Regions from separate parts of the Homo sapiens genome. Here region 1 is linked to region 2. The links are contacts of gene promoters, found by promoter capture Hi-C in blood cells and fetal thymus (Javierre and others, 2016). All regions are on one chromosome and are shown on one strand. The core of a region is centred on a gene start or on the middle of the fragment in contact, and the rest is flanking DNA. Distances in the headings are between cores, read along the strand shown. Region 1 holds the start of OR1C1 (olfactory receptor family 1 subfamily C member 1). Region 2 holds the start of OR11L1 (olfactory receptor family 11 subfamily L member 1).

The links. Contacts are between HindIII fragments. The CHiCAGO score rates a contact against its expected background, and 5 or more counts as called.
Region 1: a contact is called between the fragment with the promoter of OR1C1 here and the fragment with the promoter of OR11L1 in region 2, in 1 of 17 cell types (megakaryocytes). The highest score is 5.2, in megakaryocytes.

What each region holds. Positions count from the first base shown.
Region 1 is chr1:247,759,016-247,763,549 of GRCh38, forward strand. OR1C1 (olfactory receptor family 1 subfamily C member 1) reads right to left here and starts at 1,541. Exons shown (of 2, transcript NM_012353.3): 1 at 1,397-1,541. The HindIII fragment of the contact is 5,228 bases long and covers 1-2,170 here.
Region 2 is chr1:247,839,818-247,843,947 of GRCh38, forward strand. It overlaps OR11L1 (olfactory receptor family 11 subfamily L member 1), which reads right to left and starts at 2,079. Exons shown (of 1, transcript NM_001001959.1): 1 at 1,111-2,079. The coding sequence starts at 2,079. The coding sequence ends at 1,111. The HindIII fragment of the contact is 3,435 bases long and covers 1-2,574 here.

The DNA.
Region 1 (4,534 bases), core at 291-2,790, 81 kb before region 2:
TGAGAGCCCAGTGTTTGTGGCCTGTGCTTTCAGGACCCTTCCTTGTAGCATCTTGGTCATACTACCTTCTCTAGAAGGTGCCAGTATTCTCCCATACCTATCAACATTTTTCATAGAGTGTCTTACTTCTTGACGTCCCTCACTGTACTCTCCAACTTCTCACTTCTGTATCAATCCAATTTATACCTTCTTTTTAATTATAAAAATTATCAAATTATACAAAGTGTTGTATAACAATAAGCAAGCAAACATACATCATTCATGTAATCCGTACTTTCCTTCAGCAAACATTTATTGAGCAATTTCTATGATCCAGGTGCTGTGCACAATTTAGGACCAAAGTTTTTTTCTGACTGAAGCAAAATTTGTGATACCTTCCCAAACGTTCTCCTTGACATCTGAGGCCTTTCTAGTCTTTTCAAACCTATATTATTTCAGTTATGTTATTTAAGCCATATGGCTATCAAGTAAAGGACATGTTGTAGAAGTGGGAAGAGATTTGGAATTTTTAGTCCAAGTATCATTATTTTCTCACAATATTCCAAGAGTTATCTAGGACTTCTATTTTATTGATTTGTATGACAAGGATCCTAATGAAAATAACATAATGTAGCACTAGATAATATACATGTTCTGGTTTTATGCTAAGACAGCTGATTAACCCTAGAGAACACAATGCAGTGTATTTGTTTCTATTACAATGTTTTGAATTCCAACTTAATCAGAAACCTCACTAACACTAATTATTACATTCATCTTCCTCTGATTCCTGTCAACTTTAATTAAGTTCCATGCACCCCCTTTTACCCAACTTGAAGCATGTCAGGATAAAATCTGTACGGAAAAGAAACTATGCATGTATTTGCATGCCTTTGAGGGAGAAGCACTCTTTCAAAGACAGTCTCCTTCCCCTGTAGGCACTATCAGTTACATCATTTTTATTAATCTCATACTCACTATACAATATTCCTTTCATGACAAGCATAACAATTCCCCTTTTTCTTGGTCTACTTCATTGTAGTTAGTGAAATTTTAAGGAAAGAATTGCGATTTATTATATTGAATCCTTAGGATATAACACATATATGCACGTAGTTTGCACAGAGTTGGTGCAAAAGAGTGCTTATGGAAACAACAAATGAATGAAAAATTCTGGAGAAATCATTTGATTATATAATGAATATATGAGTTTTGCAAGATATCTTTTAATTCTATATTCTCATTTGCAGCACATCATCTTAATTTCAAAATTTTCTCAACTAGGATTTGGAAAAAGTTAGTCCACCATTGAAATGCTTAACAGCTTCGTCAAAAAACTTCCATGCATTACAACTCAAAGGATTATACATTAGGTATGTCTTCACTAAAACAAAGAAAAAAATGTATGAATACATACCCTTTTCTGAGACCTTTGCCACCTATGACTTTTCTCTTTCCTGAATATCCAATCACAAAAGCATAGATGGACCTATGCATTGATTCAGATTTCTAGTCAAGAGTGAAAAAGAGAAGAATGAGATATAGACAAGTGTGTTTCTTTCGACAGAGAATAACAGTATCTCACGGGGTGAGTATTTGGTTAGATTCATTTATTTTGATAATACAAAGGGGGGCAGGCCTTTAACATGGCACAGTTTTGTCCCTTGAGATCAGCACCCAAGAGGCTTCATGAAGTTCTAAATTTAGCTTCTAATGACTTTAGTTTATAAATTGGTTTTTCTCTTATTTTGAAGAGAAGGCAAACACAGGGGGAAATATTGTATGCGGGAAGAAAGCATGAAAGCTCATGAAGGTTCCAAGATACATTCTTGTTTTCTTTACAGGGTGCTTGGGTGAATGAATGATACAAAAAGATGGGAAACTGAAGCCACAATTTTACAAACCTATCTATTCCATCTCCATAAAACTTGCAGCTTATCCTGTCTCCCTAGTGCTAAAGAGAGATACAGTGATATAAACAACCACTTTTGGAGTAAGACACATTTTGGTTCAAATCTTCATTTGTAAATTAATTAATAGTTGCTTGACCTTGCACAAGGTATTATATTTTGTATGTTTTAGTTTTTCATCTATAAAAATACAAATACTACTTATCTCATTTAGTTGCTATAAAAACTATAATATTTATATAAAAACCTTGAATTGTGCATAGACCCAGAGGTTATCCTGAAGCTTCTGATCATCTAATGAATTAATGGCTGGGATAATCAAATATGTGCCAATAAAAATGAAAACCAAAAGAGAGTGTGTTTGGAAATGAGATTTTTCACTGTACATTAGATAAAGATTATGTGTGCGGGTGGTTGCAGATATATACATAGATAAATAGTTTTAACTCATACCATGAGCTACACCGTTACTCCACAGTATATAACTTAGTCTGAAGACTACAGCTAAACCAACCAGTATTCAAAACATTTGAAACACAGGCCCATTTATCTGAATCCAAAGATGCATTTATTCTTCTTTATTGAAATCAATATTTTATTAAACACATAGTTTTTGGTTTAATGTATTTAGGTAAATATAAGAACAGACTACAATGACAAACATTCAAATAACCTTAATGTATACTATACGTGTGTATATATATATGTATACTATACATGTGTGTGTATATATATGTATACAGACACACACACATATATATAGTGAAAGGTATACGTTGTATATTATATACATAAACAATTTGTGTATGTCTGTATAAGTGTACATATATATTTACAAACACATTTATACATTTTTTTCTAATATGGGGAAGACCTCTATATTATCAATTGAAAGGAGATTTATTTACATTTATGTTTAGTGATAATGTATGTCTCAGAGTTCATACAATGTGGATAACTTAATAGCTTTTGTAAATTCTTTTAGAACATAAGTATTAAGCATTAGACTCTTGCAGAAGATCCATGAGCTACTGAAAACACTTTGGAATTAGAAACCTGGAAAGGAGCAAAACAGGGATGCTCTGTTAATAATTACCATGTGTGGTGCACTATGAAGTGGCTTTTCATGCATCCTCTCAGGTAATACCTAAAACAGCTTTGAGACAGTTAATTTTCCTTTTAGAGAGAAAGAAACAACACTTAGAGAAGTTATGAAGCTCCTGGGTGTGGTGGCTCACGCCTGTAATCCCAGCACTTTGGGAGGCCGAGGTGGGCAAATTACAAGGTCAGGAGATCGAGACCGTCCCGGCCGACACGGTGAAACATAGACCTACGTTTGCGTGCTCTATTTGTGCATGTTAAACCTTATAAAAATACCCAGGTAATAGTTGCTTACATTCAAGAAGACAAAATATATTTGTGTCACTGCCAAACAAAATTTGATTTACTTTAACTCGTGCCTATGAAGAGATGGGGTGAATGGTAAGCTTCATGTTAATAATTTGACATCCAAGCAAAACTCCACTTTTGACTAATTTCTATCTAATAGATGTGTGTGTGTGTGTGTGTGTGTGTGTGTAATGGCAAAGGTCAGAGGGGGACCGAAGGAGACAATGTGTGGTGGGTCTGGTGATAGAATCACAATTAATAACTGTTTATGGATGGGGAATGCCTGGGGTAGCCATGAGCTGTCCACAGGCACTGCAGTAAGGATGTTGGAATAGCACACCTATACTATATTAAATTTATACCATAATAATAGACAAATTCAGTAAAGTTATAGAATACAAAATCAACAAACAAATATCAGTAGTATTTTTATACATAAATAATGACCTGTCCGGGAGCAGTGGCTCACACCTGTAATCCCAGCACTTTGGGAGGCCGAGGTGGGCGGATCACGAGGTCAGGAGTTCAAGACCAGCCTGACCAATATGGTGAAACCCCGTCTCTGCTAAAAATACAAAAATTAGTCAGTCATGGTAGCACACACCTGTAATCCCAGCTACTCACGAGGCTGAGGCAGGAGAATCACTTGAACTCGGGAGGCGGAGGTTGCAGCAAGCTGAGATCGCACCACTGCACTCCAGCCTGGGTGACAGAGCAAGACTCCATCTCAGAATAAATAAATAAATAAATAAATAAATAAATAAATAAATAAAACCTAGCTGTCAACAAAATTAAGAAAACAATCCCATTTATGATAACATTAAAAAACCTTAGCAAAAAATTTAACTAAGGGAGTAAAAGATCTGTACAATGAAAACTAAAAAACATTGATTAAAGAAACTGAAAAAGACACAAATAAATGGAAAGGTATCCATCTTGGATAAATCGCATGGAGCAAAATAAATTTACTAAAACAGGAATTGACTTTGAATTTTTACAAAAGGATCGTCATGTTTCATTGATATAAATGTGGAATTTGGGAAAGTTGAGAGGACCATAGAATCATCTGGGTTATCAGATCACCAAAAGAAGGAAAATGTTGAGCTCTGATGGCTCAGAGTTTCAGGATCTAAGCCTGCTCTGTGAGGAACTGATCAAACCTCAGGATCACAGACAAAATCTGACTTCAATAGGACAATCTTTTCTGCACCAGGTCTTCCTTCATAAGAGAAAAATAGTTTCTGTTTCTCCTCACG
Region 2 (4,130 bases), core at 829-3,328:
TGCTTCATGAGATTAAAAATATTTGTAGAATTAATGAATCAAACAATGGGCAGGATTTGTAGAGATCTTCTAAACTGGCTGAATAAAATAAACTATAAAAGTGATTTAAGAGCCTGGGCGCGGTGGCTCACCCCTGTAATCCCAGCACTTTGAGAGGCCGAGGCGGGTGGAGCTTGAGGTCAGGAGTTCAAGACCTGCCTGACCAACAGGGTGAAACTCTATCTCTACTAAAAAAAAAAAAAATACAAAAATTAGCTGGGCCTGGTGGTGCATGCCTGTATTCCCAGCTACTCAGGAGGCTGAAGCAGGAGAATCGCTTGAACCTGGGAGGTGGAGGTTGCAGTGAGCCAAAATCGTGCCATTGCACTCCAGCCTGGGCGACAGAGTGAGACTCTGTCTCAAGAAAATAAAAAGTGATTTAAACATTTTAGTGACATCCTCTGACTCTCAGGACTCACAGTAGCACAGAATACTGAGGATCTTCTCCTTCCTCCCTCCCTCCCTTCCCTCCTTTCCTCCCTCCCTCCCTCCCTCCCTTCCTTCCCACAATTTCATTAAACAAAAAACACTAAAACATCTAAGGTCTTGTAGATGAATATTTGGCACTTCAAAGGCCTTACTTCTTTCTTATCTTTAGGAGATAATGTAGGTCAACAAACATTTTAAATGTCTTCTTTTTTTTATTTATTCTTTCTACTGCTATTTAATAAGCACCAATGGCACCCACCAGGTTTTAGGTCCACAAGGCCAGTCTACTAAGAGTACTTAAAAGATGCAGAGCTTTCTGTACATAAGGTTATGTAAACAAAGGGAAATCTTATTGTAGAATGTGAAAGTAATGTGTGTGTAATCACCATCCACTGGAATTCAATCAGATTTTCCTAACAAGATGTTAGAAAGTGTCTAGGACAAAACTGACCTCAAAATGGTTTGATGGAGGCAGTTTATCTTCTGACCAGTTGCTAGTGAGGAACCCTCAAAAAGCTGTTGTTTTGTGGCCTACAGAATTCAATGCAGTTCTGACAATGATCTTCAGGTTTAAAGGTCTGAATCTACCATTCACTTAACCCTGAATTTAATCCACTGCATGTTCTGTGCAATTTTCTTTACCTAATAAAGGAACTTCCTTTTACTTGTACTCCATAGAATACCACATTTCCTTCTCATGACCTTTCTAACAGCTTCTTTGAAGTCTTTGTTCCTCAAGCTGTAGATAACTGGGTTCAGCAGTGGTGTGACCACAGTGTAGAAGACAGAAATGATCTTGTTGATTTCAGGCAACAGGTGGGGACTGGGACACACATACATGGAGATCATGGTCCCGTAGTAGAGAGTGACAACAGCCAGGTGGGAGCCACATGTGGAAAAGGTCTTTCTCCGGCCAGAGGTGGAAGGGATTCTCAATATGGAGGACACAATGAAAACATAGGGCCCCAGTGTCAGAAAAAAACAAATGCACAGCACGGCAATTGACAGGATGAAGATGGTCACCTCGGTGATATAAACTCTGGAACAGGAGAGCTGCATGAGTGGCGGGAGGTCGCAGAAGAAATGGTTAATCTGATTGCGCCCACAGAAGTCCAACCTGGAAATCATCAGGGAAGGCAGAAAGCCTGTGCTGACCCCTGTGCACCAGGAGACCACCACCAACCTGGCACAGAGCCCACGATGCATGAGGAAGGGGTAGCGGAGTGGGCTGCAGATGGCCAGGTAACGGTCATAGGCCATGAAGGCCAGGAGAAAGCACTCGGTGGCGCCGAGGAATACGAAGAAGTAGAGCTGTGCCATGCAGGCAGAGAAGGAGATGGCTTGGCCCCAGGACAGCAGGTTGGCTAGGAGAAGGGGCACAGTGGTGGACGTGTACCAGACCTCCAGAAAGGAGAGATGCTGGAGGAACATGTACATAGGGGAGTGCAGTCGCAGGCCCTGGCTCACCACGGTGATGATGACAACATTCCCTATAATGGTCAGGCAGTAGATGAGCAGGAAAATGACAAAGAGCAGGGCCTGCCATTCAAGAAGGTTCTGGAATCCTAACAGCTGAAAGTTAGTCACAGTGGAGGTATTTTGGGGCTCCATTGCCTGTGGGGGATGAAAAACATTCTGGAAAAGCACAGGATGCAAGGCGCAAATTTATCACTGGTGATGCTTGGAACTTCAGAGATTAATTTTTAAATAGTTTAGATCTGTATGCACAGCTTTTTAGAAGGATAAATGCATAATTCCATATCTCTTTCGTAAGAATACATTTTGAAATCTTAAGCTGAATGTGAATATTAGATCTTGTAAGGAGACTCAGCAAGTTTCATTCATCTGGGTTCTCTGAAATCTTGAAGTCTCCTTCCAAAGACAGGCAAAAAAGGACTCTTATTAGTAGATCTTCAGTGTTCTCACCATACAAAAAAGAAAAATTGAGGTGATGAATATGTTAATTGGATTGATTGTGATGATTATTTCACAATGAATACATCTACGAGAACAAAGTTGTACACTGTAAATATATAGTATACAATAATTATCAACTACACCTCAATAAAGCTGGACAAAAACTCAGAAAACTAACAATAACAACAAAGCTTTAAAAAAAATCCTGCACGGCCGGGCGCAGTGGCTCACGCCTGTAATACCAGCACTTTGGAAGGCCGAGGCGGGCGTATCACGAGGTCAAGAGTTCGAGACCAGCCTGAGCAACACAGTGAAACCCCGTCTCTACTAAAAATACAAAAATTAGCTGGGTGTAGTGGTGCCTGCCTGTAATCCCAGCTACGTGGGAGGCTGGGGCTGGAGAATCGCTTGAATCCGGGAGGCGGAGATTGCAGTGAGCCAAGATCGCACCACTGCATTCCAGCCTGGGTGACAGGGCGAGACTCCGTCTCAAAAAAAAAAAAAAAATCATGCACATGTGGAAGCAAATGCCTTTCCCTTCTCATCTGTGGGCTTTGTCTGAAAAAGAAGCCAGACACAGCACATCTCCTATGCCATCTTGGGAAAGTGTATATATTCCACCCTCAAACAATATTTATTAGTCCCTGCTGTGTGTGTGTGTTTGTGTGTGTGTGTTTGTGTGTGTGTGTGTGTGTGTGAAGGCCTGTGCTGAACTAATCTGCCTCACTCCACTGGTGTCCTTTCTTGCCTCATCCGATACCATACTCATGCTCAGCCACTATAATTACACCCTCGTGTACACCTTTTATTCTTTCATTTAATTCATTGTCTATAGTTCTGGATAAAGTAAACATCCACCTGCCATACAGGAGCTTCTGTGAAGTTGAGGGAGTGAGACAAGCAAGAATAGAACCTCTTTAAAATGTACAACCAACAAACTCAGTGTGCCCTTACTGCTGGAGAGCAATCATTCTGTATTTCCCTTATAAACCAAAAATAAAATTCTAAACCCCACAACTGACTGAGCGGACTCCTCCTTTCAGCCAAGGGGATTTCAAAGAAACCTAAAAATTCTGGTTCAGATCATGATGGGAAGAGGGGGTTGGACAAACCTCATTACACTCTCCTTTCTTCAGAATTCAGGCATAACTGAGCAGCAATAACATCAAAAAAGAGATTTTAAGGCTGACGAAACAGACTCTGTAGAAATAAGCTACCAAATTCTAACCTGACTCTAGTATAGCATCATGACAGACAGCCGACCCTGAAGGAAATGGAAATATTTTACCACAAAATATATTTATTTGTCATATTTAAAATGGCCCTGCAAAGCTGTCTCTTGTGGGGGAAATCTACATTCTGCGGAGAATCCCTTTCCCTCTCCAGGCCTTTGTCTGATCCTCAAGAGATTAGCTGAAAGTCTAGCACCTTTTAAAGGTCTCAATAGAACATTTTTCCCATCTGCTGCTTCTCAGGCTGGCAACATATGAGACTTCATCTACATCATAAGAACCTTGGTTTCCCCAACCCCCCTATCTTAACCCAGATTCTCCTTTCTATTGATTCCAGGTCTTCAGACAATAACTTAATTCTTTCAACCAGTTGCCAATCAAAAAGTCTTTGCATCCACGTATGACTGTAACCTTCCCCCATTCTTGGAGCTGTCCTGCCTTTCCAGACCAAACCAACGCATAGCTCACACGTACTGATTGATGTCTTATGTCTCCCTAAAATGGATAAAGTCA